Linked DNA regions of Homo sapiens: regions 2, 3 and 4 are each linked to region 1. Evidence: promoter capture Hi-C in human tissues and cell types (Jung and others, 2019). All regions are on one chromosome and are shown on one strand. The core of a region is centred on a gene start or on the middle of the fragment in contact, and the rest is flanking DNA. Distances in the headings are between cores, read along the strand shown.

What was found. The method cuts DNA at HindIII sites, captures the fragments that hold promoters and counts their contacts. A contact is called where the count stands out against the background at its distance.
Region 2: a contact is called between a fragment that was not itself captured here and the fragment with the promoter of LZIC in region 1, in 1 of the 25 tissues and cell types used here (aorta).
Region 3: a contact is called between a fragment that was not itself captured here and the fragment with the promoter of LZIC in region 1, in 2 of the 25 tissues and cell types used here (hippocampus and mesenchymal stem cells).
Region 4: the fragment with the promoter of PIK3CD here is called in contact with the fragment with the promoter of LZIC in region 1 in 4 of the 25 tissues and cell types used here (IMR-90 fibroblasts, mesendoderm cells, neural progenitor cells and 1 more).

What each region holds. Positions count from the first base shown.
Region 1 is chr1:9,941,825-9,945,092 of GRCh38, forward strand. LZIC (leucine zipper and CTNNBIP1 domain containing) reads right to left here and starts at 1,567. Exons shown (of 8, transcript NM_032368.5): 1 at 1,425-1,567; 2 at 800-958. NMNAT1 (nicotinamide nucleotide adenylyltransferase 1) reads left to right here and starts at 1,651. Exons shown (of 5, transcript NM_022787.4): 1 at 1,651-1,691. RefSeq lists enhancers at 596-1,166, 700-1,899, 1,167-1,736. The HindIII fragment of the contact is 33,243 bases long and covers 1-3,268 here.
Region 2 is chr1:10,451,242-10,454,509 of GRCh38, forward strand. It overlaps CENPS-CORT (CENPS-CORT readthrough), which reads left to right. Exons shown (of 4, transcript NM_199006.3): 4 at 136-912. The coding sequence ends at 160. It overlaps CORT (cortistatin), which reads left to right. Exons shown (of 2, transcript NM_001302.5): 2 at 136-757. The coding sequence ends at 354. Among named protein-coding and RNA genes, the nearest start is that of CORT, 2.8 kb to the left of the region's middle. The HindIII fragment of the contact is 5,212 bases long and covers 1-3,268 here.
Region 3 is chr1:10,293,925-10,297,192 of GRCh38, forward strand. It overlaps KIF1B (kinesin family member 1B), which reads left to right. Exons shown (of 49, transcript NM_001365951.3): 18 at 1,162-1,241; 19 at 1,736-1,842; 20 at 2,658-2,741; 21 at 2,973-3,153; 22 at 3,250-3,268. Among named protein-coding and RNA genes, the nearest start is that of KIF1B, 85 kb to the left of the region's middle. The HindIII fragment of the contact is 6,454 bases long and covers 1-3,268 here.
Region 4 is chr1:9,649,987-9,653,254 of GRCh38, forward strand. It overlaps PIK3CD (phosphatidylinositol-4,5-bisphosphate 3-kinase catalytic subunit delta), which reads left to right and starts at 1,745. Exons shown (of 24, transcript NM_005026.5): 1 at 1,745-1,816. PIK3CD-AS1 (PIK3CD antisense RNA 1) reads right to left here. Exons shown (of 2, transcript NR_027045.1): 2 at 2,624-3,268. RefSeq lists a silencer at 1,658-2,547 and an enhancer at 2,728-2,797. The HindIII fragment of the contact is 15,008 bases long and covers 1-3,268 here.

The DNA.
Region 1 (3,268 bases), core at 317-2,816:
AGCACAATCTTGGACAGACAAAAAGTGCCGAATAAACAACTGGTAGATGAATAATGAGAATTGATTGCTTCTTCTTTAGCATTCAAATCTTTTTTTTTAAAATTTTTTTTGAGACGGAGTCTCGCTCTGTCGTCCAGGATGGAGTGCAGTGGCGCGATCTCGGCTCACTGCAACCTCAGCCTCCTGGGTTCAAGCAATTCTCCTGCCTCAGCCTCTCCAGTAGCTGGGACTACAGGCATGCGTCACCACATCTGGCTAATTTTTGTATTTTTAGTAGAGATGGGGTTTCACCATGTTGTCCAGGCGAGTCTTGAACTCCTGACCTCTGGTGATCCACTTGCCTCAGTCTCCCAAAGTGATGGGATTACAGGCGTGAGTCACCGCGCCCAGCTCAAATCTTATTCTCTATTTAGCACTTATTTCTGCCTTTAATTATATATGATTTTATTATAATACGTTATCTCCTCTGACTAAACTCTGGAGAACAGAATATGAGTCTGATTCCTCTCTCAGCTTTCTCAGTACCTAATACAGAATAGAACGTCGATAATTTGGTCACGTATATAAAGGCTCAACATATTTTAAGGAGCTAAAGCTATTCTGAATACATTTCAGTAAAAATGGGTGCATTTTAAAAGCCTTAACCTGGTACTACATTAGTTGAGATTTATCCCCGAAAGATTAACTCGTTGGCACCACCTAGTAGTCACTAAATGTGGTGCACTTTTCACTTTTACGAAACTACAGAAACCGCTCTCAGACACTATATCTGGAGCGGAGGGTCCTCATTCATGCTCACCTGTCTCTTAGTACTCTGATCTCTGCACAGTGCCGACCGGTCTCAAATTGCACAAACCTCCAGTTCTTGACGTTCCGAGTGTCATAAACTTGAGGAAAATGAAATTATTCATCAGGACTACAAAAGGCTCAAAGTTCAAACCACCTCGGGGTGGAGATGCTGGAAAAAAGGAAACCATTAACAAGTAATTTTATTTGCTATATATAAACTTGCCCTAAGGCAGTCCAGATAACTTCCACTTGAGCAGCCTGAGACATCAAGGGCGGGGGCACTTTCCCCCTCGACTGCGCCTACCGCAGCCTTTCTGAGTTTCTTCCTAGCGAGGCCGAGAGGGTCTTTGAGGAAAATCCCGCATCCGGACACGCCTTGAGGGATGGCGTCAAACCCAGAGGCTTGGAAAAGGTAAGGGCGGAGAGCACGCCTCTTCCTTGAAAGTGAGGAGGGTTTGGCCCAGAACCAACAGGACTGGGTGAAGAATCAGCTCCGGCCACCGCAGCAAATCCCACCCCACGCGGGAACTTGAAGTCCGGCACGTAGGTCCCGCGGCGGCCGGGCTCCAACAGGCCCCAATTGCCACCAGAGGTAGCCGTAAACCCATGGTCCCCGAAACTCCTTCCGGGCCTACCTGACAAAAACTGGGACAACCTCCTTAGGCCCCCGGGATTCCCCCTGTGCCGCCTGACCGCCCGCCAGTCCCAGAGTTTAGGGCCAGGGGCCCCGCCTACCTGAGGGCACTGGCCTGGCGGACCGCGCCGGGGGAGCACTTCCGCTGGACGCACGCACTTCCGGCCCCCTGGAACCAATGAGAGTGCGACCGAGATGTTCCACTCGCTGGCGTCCGGGCCGCTGGTGATCTCCGGTAGCACTCGGGCCGGCGGACAGTGAGGGCGCGGTAAGCTCCCCGCAAGGAGCCCCTGAGAAACTGGTCGCTTTTTGTCCTAGATATAGGGGAGTCCAGGATGGTGTGGTGGAGTCTTTAGAGTCGAATATGACCCGAGGCAAGCTCATATTCAGGTTTGGGGCAAGGAGCTTTGATTGACCCTTAATTTTTTCAGTGGAACGGAAAACTTCGGTAAAATAGCTTCTGACCTTCGGAACAGATGGATTCACCTTGGAAAGGAAAAATCTCTTTCTAGAAGAGTCTTGAGGTCTGGCACCTTTAGGCTTAACGGGGGACGGCTGGGCGTCAGAGGAGGAAATCCTTCATTCCGAACGACTTCCCTTTCCTCCTAAATCCTTCTTTCCAAATCTGTAAAAGACTACATCTACTTTGCTGGAGGTGGTTTGACACTCATGCTCCTTGAGAAGGAGGTAATGAGCTGTAGGGCAGCTCTTAAAAAGTTACCCTTGGACGGGCGCGGTGGCTCACGCCTGTAATCCCAGCACTTTGGGAGGCCGAGGCAGGCGGATCACGAGGTCAGGAGTTCGAGACCAGCCTGGCCAACATAGTGAAACCCCGTCTCTACTAAAAATACAAAAAATTAGCTGGGCGTGGTGGTGGGCGCCTGTAATCTCAGCTACTCGGGAGGCTGAGGCAGGAGAATCGCTTGAATCCTGGAGGCGGAGGTTACAGTGAGCCGAGATCGCGCCATTGCACTCCAGCCGGGGCGACAGTTCGAGACTCCATCTCAAAAATAAAAATAAAAAAAAGTTACCCTTGGCTGTCGCGGTGTGACACCTGTAAACCCAGCACTTTGAGAGCCCGCGGTGGGAGGATCATTTGAGCCCAGGCTGGGCAACATAGCAAGACCCTCATAACAAAAAATTAAAAATAAAATTACCCAGAAACTGGTTGGAACTATTTAATGATGTTCTTAGTCCATCTTCCTGAAGTAGTCCACAGAACAACATCAGTGTTCATGGTAGAATTGTTTCATCAGGGCAGTTTTTTTTTAAGTAACAATGTCTTGTTAAAAAACAAGAGCTGTGTTGCCCAGGCTGGAGTGCAGTGGTGTGATCATAGCTCACTGCAGCCTTGAACTCCTGGGCTCAAGCGATCCTCTGGCCTTGGCCCCTCAAAGTGTTGTGGTGATTGGCACAAGCCACCGACAGGCCTGGAGTCTGAAGTTAGTTATATTTCAGCTACCCAGGATAAACTTCTAACTATGATTACCACAGAACTCTACCAAAACTAATTGTTTCACTTAGTTCTGTCTGATTATGGAATCTCTTTATTACCATCAGTTGTTTTTCAGAGTTACAATTTGAATATGAAACCATTTTTCTAGCCCACCTTAGAGAAGACTGTTGACACACTAGTTGAAATGGTTGCAATAGCCTCTACCTTGCAAGACACTTCAGATTCAAAGAATTTCCTTTGCAAAAGTCGGCCGGGTGCAGTGGCTCATGCCTGTAATCCCAGCACTTTGGGAGGCCAAGGCGGGCAGATCACTTAAGGTCAGGAATTCAAAACCAGCCCGGCCAACATGGTGAAACCCCATCTCTACTAAAAATACAAAAATTAACCAG
Region 2 (3,268 bases), core at 536-3,035, 510 kb after region 1:
TTCTCTTTTCTCCAGGGTAGTCTTTTAGATCATTTTTTTTTTTAAGTAAGGAGGAGATTGCATATCTTTGAATGCTTGCTGCCTGAGCCAGATTGCTGAGTTTTCTTTCCTTTGCCATCTGCTTCTCTTTAAAAGCATATGCAGGAAGCGGCAGGAATAAGGAAAAGCAGCCTCCTGACTTTCCTCGCTTGGTGGTTTGAGTGGACCTCCCAGGCCAGTGCCGGGCCCCTCATAGGAGAGGAAGCCCGGGAGGTGGCCAGGCGGCAGGAAGGCGCACCCCCCCAGCAATCTGCGCGCCGGGACAGAATGCCCTGCAGGAACTTCTTCTGGAAGACCTTCTCCTCCTGCAAATAAAACCTCACCCATGAATGCTCACGCAAGTGTAATGACAGACCTGAATAAAATGTATTAAGCAGCAGTGATCTTTCCTCTCCTCCTTCCCAAGTCATTTGAAAAGTGTTTGTTATTTAAATTCCAATAATGCCCAATACTGACGTGTCTTGAGTAATTTGGAACCCAAAGTGAAGATCTTTGATAAAGATTTTTTTGTGGTTCGACTGGACTGTGCTGAGTGCGGGCACTGGGCTTTTCTTCTGATGTTCATTATGGTGCTGGGAAGCTCTGTCTTTGATTTAAAATAAAATAGCTAAAGGCTACACAATTAAGAGTTCAGAATAACATCTTATTTCAGTTTATGAATTGATATGAATTGTCTAATTTAAAAAATATTTCCCTCACATTAAAAGCAAATTTTTAATATCAGGCTCGAAGAGCAAAATGATTATTCCTCATGTTTTAGCTGAAATTAATTTTAAAACATATTAAACAGAAAACCTGCTGACATGCCTGTGAAACTGATACTCGAACTTGCTGTTATGTACCAGTTTTAATTAGTAGCTTAATGGGTTGCAATTCTTTTCATGGATTATAGCTTCAGATTTGCTTTGGGAGGAATGAAGGCTACCCACAGAATTTTTTTTTTTTTGAGACGGAGTCTAGCTGTCACCCAGGCTGGAGTGCTATGGCGCGGTCTCAGCTCACTGCAACTTCCGCCTCCCAGGTTCATGTGATTCTCCTGCCTCAGCCTCCTGAGTAGCTGGGACTACAGCATGCGCTTCCATGCCTGGCTAATTTTTTTTTTTTTTTTTTTAGATGGAGTTTCGCTTTTGTTGCCCAGGCTGGAGTGCTATGGCACGGTCTCAGCTCACTGTGGCTTCCGCCTCCGAGGTTCAAGTGACTCTCCTGCCTCAGCCTCCCAAGTAGCTGGGACTACAGGCACACACCACCACGCCTGGCTAATTTTTGTATTTTTAGTAGAGACGGGGTTTCTCCATGTTGGTCAGGCTGGTCTCGAACTCCTGGCTTCAGGTGATCCACCTGCCTTGGCCTCAGAAAGTGCTGGGATTACCAGCGTGAGCCACTGCGCCTGGCCATGAAGGTTTTTCGATGCTAAACTTCATTGGGAAAACCAGCAAAGGCTGGCTGGAGGACACGGGAATATTCTCTTCTCTGGACACCAGGGGAGCGGACTCCCTGAGAATGGCTGCTGACCGTCCGTTGTTTTCTGCCGAGCTGAGCTCATATTCATAATTACTAGCTGAATAAAGTATAATGTGATGGAAGAGACTTAATAGCATCCACGTTTCCAAACACAGCAGCTTTAGGAGACCAGGAATTGGGTCAGTGCACTGGTGGAAGATGCCTGCCTGAAAGGCCAGCTAACCTTCCAGAACTTTGTTTTTTTTAAAGATTTTTTCTAGAAAGAAGCCATGCTTATTGTTTTTCAGTTTTTAAATTGGGGTCGGCAGGGCGCGGTGGCTCATGCCTGTAATCCCAGCACTGTGGGAGGTTGAGGCAGGCAGATCACTTGAGGCCAGGAGTTCGAGACCAGCCTGGCCAACATGATGAAACCCTGTCTCGACTAAAAATACAAAAATTACCCAGGCGTGATGGTGCACCCCTGTAATCCCAGCTACTTGGGAGGCTGAGGCACGAGAATCACTTGAGCCTGGGAGGCGGAAGTTGTAGTGAGCCGAGGTCATGCCACTGTACTCCAGCCTGGGTGACAGAACGAGACTCTGTCTCAAAAATAATAGTAAAATAAGATAAAATAGGGGCTGGGCGTGGTGGCTCACACCTGTAATCCCAGCACCTTGGGAGGCCGAGCTGGGTGGATCACCTGAGGTCGGGTGTTCAAGACCAGCCTGATCAACGTGGTGAAACCCTGTCTCTACTAAAAACACCAAAAATTAGCCGGGCTTGGTGGCACATACCTGTAATCCCAGCTACTCAGGAGGCTGAGGCAGGAGAATCACCTTAACCCGGGAGGCAGAGATTGCAGTGAGCCAAGATTGTGCCACTGCACTCCAGCCTGGGCGACAGAGTGAGACTCCGTCTCAAAAAATAAAATACATTGGGGTCATCCACACAGACTTTAAGATTGGGGATTTTACCTTTTAACTAAGTAGTTATCTGTAGGATAATGAGGCTCTACTAGTGCTACTGCCAGGAAATTCAAGTCTAAGCCTACCTTAGTTCAGGGGACTTCATACGACATTAACTGGCATCAGCTGCATGTTAGACCAGATGAATATGCTTGTGATTAATAAATCAGGGTAAAATGGTCATTTCCCACCATCTGGTTTTTGGTGGCCTTTTCTGTAGTTCAGTAGAGTCAGGTGTGTAGATCTGGGTAATCAGGCCCTGGGCAACTTCAAGTTCATGCTCTTGTTATTTTGTCCAGGATTTGGCACCAGAACAGCTCCCTAACTGCTGAGGAGGAATGAAGGACAACAGACACTCACAGCTTTCCTATTTCAGGGCTGGCAGCAAAGGATTCCAGGCTTTAGGAAACTCCTCAGACTGGGAAGCTCAGGGGAGATACTTACCTTGATGTAAGCAGCACCTGTTGAAGGGCAGCCCGTCTTTTTTTTTTTTTTTTTTTTTTTGAGACAGAGTCTCCCTCTGCCACCCAGGCTGGAGTGCAGTGAAGTGATCTTGGCTCACTGTAAGCTCCACCTCCCGGGCTCAGGTCATTCTTCTGTCTCAGCCTCCCGAGTAGCTGGGACTACAGGCACCCGCCACCACACCCAGCTAATTTTTTCTATTTTTTTGTAGAGATGGGGTTTCACCGTGTTAGCCAGGATGGTCTCGATCTCCTGACCTTGTGATCCACCCACCTCAGCCTCCCAAAGTGCTGGGATTACAGGTATGAACCACCGCGCCTGGCCAGGGGCAGCCCATCTTAAAAACAGTAGCGTTTTCCATA
Region 3 (3,268 bases), core at 525-3,024, 350 kb after region 1:
GAGATTCCATTTTTCAAATTATGATGTGCTTTAAAGAATGCTACTCACAAAGGGCTTTGACTTTCTCAAACCAGTCAAGTTCTTCAACTACAAAGGGGGATGCTAGTTGAGAAGATGTGGAGGTTTTTCAGATTTCTCTTTAACCATCTTTTATAGTTCCTTTTCCTACCCCCTCATCTGACTCTTCTTTCATTCTTCCACATTTGCTGGCACTCTCTTGAGTAGATTTTGGCCTCAAGACCATGTGACTTATTTTTGGATTCCAGTGGGTTATTTTCACTAAAGAAGGTTGGTTTTTTAAAAAGATTTTAGAAATATTAGAGTTAGATGAAGAGGATTGTTAGAAGATGTTTATCTTATCGAATATCAGTAATTTTACTTTTTTCTTTAAGGTAAAGACTAATAAATTAAAATCTTTTAAGGTAAAGACAAATTAATAACTGGGATCAGAAGAACTGATAAAAATTATAGTGGGAAGTGGTGGGGGGGTATGGGGACATTTTAATAAAAGTAAATATTTCTTGAGATTTTTACCCAGGCATTTACAAAAATTATAATTATTCCGTTCAGAGAATTGGCCTGTCATTTTTTCCTTGTGCTTTGACCTTATCAAAAATTAGGTCTTGTTTTTTTATCCCAGAACTCATGTTTTAAAATGGAATGCCAGGCACAGTGGCTCACTCCTATAGTCCCAACACTTTGGGAGGCCAAGGAGGGTGGGTCAGTTGAGGTCAGTAGTTCGAGACCAGCCTGGCCAACATGGTGAAACCCTGCCTCCACTAAAAATAGAAAAATTAGCCAGGCGTGGTGGCGAACACCTGTAATCCCAGCTACTTGAGAGGCTGAGGCAGGAGAATCACTTGAACCTGGAAGGCAGAGGTTGCAGTGAGTCAAAATCATGCCGCTGTACTCTAGACAGAGCGAGACTCTGTCTCAAATTAATTAATTAATTAAAATAAAATAGAATGCACTTGGTTCCGTTTGGTGAGGCCTGAAGAGAGTGTTTTCTCTTTATTATGGAACCGCAACTAGGGATAAAAAGAAATCCCTCTCTAGGCTCTGTGGAGAGTTGGAGAAGCCTGGCCTCTTGTAGGCCCCTGTTGTTACCACAGCTCTCTCATGGTGCCCTGCTCCAAATTGATCATCTGTAATCTTTTTCAGACCCCACATCTTGTTAACCTCAATGAAGACCCACTAATGTCTGAGTGCCTACTTTATTACATCAAAGATGGAATTACAAGGTATATTTATTTCCTGTTTTGGTCACTTCGTGTGTTTTCCCCCTCTTAGATAATTGAATAACTAAAGGGAAGGGGTTGAAAAAATTAACGTAATGATTTGCTGTATTTTTTGTCTGAAATAGTTACAAACTATGCTCTCTTTCCAAATAATGTGTTTTTGCCACTGGAGCCAGTTACTATGTAGTTTTTCTCTGAAGACCCTAAATAATTTTTTTTTCCTTTAACAAATATACATTCCTTAGGGATTTTATTTGACTCATGTCTTTATAATACTGTATGAGTTACATTGGTATATCAGTGCTCCTTGTTTCTTATTCTGATGTAGAGAGGTTGATCATATGTGAGGATAGAATTCATAGTTGAAAGCTTCTGATGCAACAAGGCAATACCTTTTTTGTACGTACCAAAGGATATTCTTTGGAATAAAGAGGTTCATTGTTTGTAGTGCTTTCTGTGTCTGAATTTCCCTGGGAAACACTTTCTCTTGTGTTCAGGGTTGGCCAAGCAGATGCTGAGCGGCGCCAGGACATAGTGCTGAGCGGGGCTCACATTAAAGAAGAGCATTGTATCTTCCGGAGTGAGAGAAGCAACAGCGGGGAAGGTGAGCATTCCTGGCTGGAGCTTCAGCAACAACATTTTCATTTTATATTATGAGAAATCCTTAAGACTTTGTATTCTCTGTCTATCAGTAGTACTTTCTTATACAATCTAATTCTGAAAAATGGAGAGACCTGGGCTGCTTATGAATGCAGAGATGGACAAGGCTGCTTTACATGAAAATAGCTTGGACAAAAGAAGCCCTTTTTTACTGCCAAGAACTGAGAAGGACATAGGCAATTAGGCTTGGTCTGGAATGTTAATTATTTAATAGAAAAGTAAGAAAATAGCAGATATCCTGGGTAATAGGAGATTTGAAGGACATTAAGTCAACCCAGCAGAATTTATTTTTATCTAAAAGGGAAGAAAAAGTCAGTCTTGATTTTTGCCTGGGTTATTAACAAAACAACAATTTAATGGTTTTTTTCTGTTATATAAGTCACTCATTCCCTTATCAAAATATTAGCTTCTCAGTCTTTAGTTTCTGGTTATTACCTATATCTCATCCTTACAATTTCTGATGGTTCTGAGTTTTATTGACTGAACCGTCAGAGATCCCTGAAACTAATATTTCCTATCATCTTCTTAGGTTTATCAAATAGAGTTAAATGTTCTTGTGTTAGCCATGGCCACAGATAGCCTCTTCTATTGGGGCTAGTTCTGGTACCCCAAAATGAACTACTGTATAGACAACTTCAGCCACTTGATTGATTGCAGGGATTTATTCTACTTACTGCAAATCCTGATAAGCAACTGCTTTCCATTATTTGATTCCAATAGTTTGTAATGATAACATTAGTTTGTGTTTGTTCCTCTTAGTTATCGTGACCTTAGAGCCCTGTGAGCGCTCAGAAACCTACGTAAATGGCAAGAGGGTGTCCCAGCCTGTTCAGCTGCGCTCAGGTGAGACTGGGAGAGGTTTGCCATCTTCAGCAATGTGCACATGGCTTCTGTGACAACTCTAATTTTTGGCTGTTTAAAGGCTGAAGTAATAGTCAGCATTAGGATTTTTGTTCTTGTAAAAACAACAGCTCTGAAAGCTGTCTTTTCACATTAGGGAGGGGTGAGGTTGTTAAATAGATACTATATATTAAAAAAATTATTTCTTAACCCTATTTTTCTGTTTTGTGCTAGGAAACCGTATCATCATGGGTAAAAACCATGTTTTCCGCTTTAACCACCCGGAACAAGCACGAGCTGAGCGAGAGAAGACTCCTTCTGCTGAGACCCCCTCTGAGCCTGTGGACTGGACATTTGCCCAGAGGGAGCTTCTGGAAAAACAAGGAATTGATATGAAACAAGAGATGGAGAAAAGGTAATGCACAGTTACGCAGCCCATATGACTGTTTCTTCTTTTAAACATGTAATACTAATAGCATTCTTGAATTTTTTTTTTTTTTTTTACTTCTAGGCTACAGGAAATGGAGATC
Region 4 (3,268 bases), core at 495-2,994, 290 kb before region 1:
ATAAGGCAGATTAACAAGAGAAAAACCATGTGTAACTAAGACCTATGCATGGGAATCCCACAAAATACAAGACTGGATGAAGGCTCAGATGAATAAAGCTCATATAACATCCTACAAGGGACAGGAAACATTCCTTCAGAAAGGAATAGGGCTTGGGTCAGGTGTGGTGGTTCACGCCTGTAATCCCAGCACTTTGGGAGCCTGAGGCGGGTGGATCATGAGGTCAGGAGTTCAAGACCAGCCTGGTGAACATGGCGAAACCCCACCTCTACTAAAAATACAAAAATTAGCCAGGCACGGTGGTGTGCACCTATAGTCCCAGCTACTCAGGAGGCTGAGGCAGGAGAATTGCTTGAACCCAGGAGGCTGAGGCTGTGGTGAGCCAAGATCACGCCACTGCACTCCAGCCTGGGCAACAGAACAAGATTCCTCAAAATAAACAAAACAAAGAAACAAAACAACAAAAAACAAACAAAAAAACATGAAAATCAGCTGGGTGTCGTGGCGTGTGCCTGTAATCCCAGCTACTTGGGAGGCTGAGGTAGGAGAATTGCTTGAACCCAGGATGCAGAGATTGCAGTGAGCCGAGATGGCACCACTGCATTCCAGCCTGGACAACAGAGCAAGACTGTCTCAAAAAAAAGAAAAGAAAAAAGAAAAAGAAAGAAAAGAAAAGAAAAAAAGGAATAGAGGCTTGGGATCCTGGGGAGGTGGTACACAAGTTAAGGGAGAGTGAGGGGAGAGAGGGTAAGGTGAATGAAGCTTGTCTTCTTATGCGGATAAAATTTCTCAGGTAAGAAAAGTTAGCTCTGAGCAGCCCTCCGCCTGATACTAATACTTTACCAATGGAGATTTTCCTTTTCTTTTCTGTTTTTGAGACAGGGTCTCACTTTGTTTCCCAGGCTGGAGTGCAGTGGTGCCATCATGGATCACTGCAGCCTCCATTTCCCTGGCTCAAGCCATCCTCCCACCTCAGCCTCCCGAGTAGCTGGGACTACAAGGTGTGCACCACCACGACTGGCTAATTTTTAATTTTTTTGTAGAGACGGGGGTTTCCCTATGTTGCCCAGGCTGGCTTGAATTCCTGGGCTCAAGTGATCCTCCCGCCTCGGCCTCCCAAATTGCTGGGATTGCAGGAGTGAGCCACAGTGCCAGGCCTGGAGATTTTCTTTATAGATAGAAATCATTTTACAAAAGGACAGCTTTTCAGATCTACTCCTGTGCCTGCAGTTTCTAAGAATAATCCCTTCAAAATATGGCGAAGAAGTATATTTTGGGGTGGCACACGCTGGTCTCCCATAGTCACATTTTGGGTGTGTGTCCTGAGCCCCAACACTGGTCACCTCGCAATGGCGCTTGGGGTCCCTGGGTGCCTAGAGCTGCAGGTTACCCCCTCTTCTTCTCCTGCTCTCAGCCTTTCTCCCGCTCCTGCTGAAATTCTTTCCTGCGTGAAGGCGGAGCGCTTAAAGGCGCCTAGGACCTTTATTTCGTTGTTTTCCTTTGCATAAAAAGAAAACTTGTTTTGTAGAAGGGCAAGCAAGGTGCAGCTTCCAGAGGCACCTGGGATGATGCCCCTCTAGCGGTAGGCGAACTGGGGAGTGTGGGCGGCGGGGGAAGGCGAGGCCCTGGAGGACCTGTTGTTTTTCCTGTTGCAAGTGAAAAGGAAACAAAGTGGGAAGTGGAGTGTGCGGGTTGGCGGCAGGCGGGGCGCCCCGGCGCGCCCCGCCTCCCTCCCTCGAGGCTCACTCGCGCCCAGCGCAGTCGCTCCGAGCGGCCGCGAGCAGAGCCGCCCAGCCCTGCCAGCTGCGCCGGGACGGTAAGCGATCGCCGCTGGCTGCGTCAGGGGAGGTGGGAAGAGGACCGCGGCCAGGGGCTTTGGGAGCTGCGGCTGCGCTCGGGGGCGCGGGGCTGGCTGGCGGGCGTCTCTCCGGCACACACAGCCCGTGCGCCCTGGCCCTGGGCGCCTCCCCGAGTCTAGCGAGCCGGGTCCTGGGAGCCCCGGGGGCCGGGCTGCTGGGACCTGGGCGGGGGCTGCCCTAGAGGCCCGGGGCCGTCCCCCGTGGGCCCGCCGAGAGGGGCGTGCGCAGCTCCCCGGCGCCTGCACTGCGCGCCTTGCCCGCCTGGCCCGGCAGCGGGGTTTCAGCTGCGCTCACAGCGGCGGTGCGGCCTCCGGTGCGCCGGCTGAGGCGCGAGGATACTGGAAGCGCTCAGCGCGTGCGCCCGCTCCGAGCGCTGACTAGAGGACCAGGGGCCTCCTCTGTACGGCAGCGGGGTCCACAGAGAGCGCGCTGGTGATGTCGCCCGAGTGCCCTGGCGCGGAGAGAGGGCTGCGCACAGTTCGCCGGCGCCCGGGTCCTGTGCGCCCTTCCCAGCCTGGGCAAGTGGGGAGCGGGGCTGCAGAGGGGCCGGGGTGGAAGTTTTCGGGGCTTCCTCCCGGCTCGTGGACCCGCGCCCCGCCTCCCAGTCCCGGGCCTCCCGCGTTGCTCGCCGCGTTTGCTGCAGCGGCGCAGGCGAGATCAGCTCCGGATCTGCGGCCGAGCCGGGGTTACGCCGGCAAAACCGCCCCCAGCTTTGCATTTCCGGACTTTTTAAAAAAATACTCTTACCCGTAATTCAGCCTGAATGAGGCTTTTTAAAAAAATCGAGTTTCCTGTTTTTATTTAGGCTTCCTCATTTGCACCTCCTCCTTTGAGGTAGAGAAGAGGGGAACTGGGACGACCTTTCGTGGGCACCAGGATGGGGGCGTTGCAGGGCGGGGAGACGGGGGTCCAGAGAACCGGGGAAGGGCCGCTGGGAGGTCCCGAAAAGTGCGCTGTGGGTGGGGCGAGGGTGAAGCAGGTAGGGGCGAGATTTCCGGGGTCGCGGGTGGGGGGCGCCCTGGAGCGGCCAAGGTGCAGGGTCCTCGCGTGGCACCCTTGGGATCTGCCCAGTTTGCGGATGGAGCGCGGGGCTGATCGGGCAGGTCTCACTTGTGCAGGTGTTCCCTGGAAGGTGGGACCTGCAGATCTTGAACCCCACCAGACTCCATCAAGGGGGCTTCTTCCCGCCGATTCCTGAGAAGTCCTACCTCTGAGATGCTGGGCACAGCCGCACGTGGATGTGGGCGGGTGTGCCGTGGGTTGGAGTGGGAAGGGGCAATTATTCCTCTCTCAGGGCTCTCGGAGGGGAAGGTTTACTGCTCCCTAGGGACTTTGAAACCAAGGGCTAACCCCCTGCTCTCTTCCAGGAGAGTGGGATACCGCCCGGGTGCCTGACGGTGCCTTGGTGT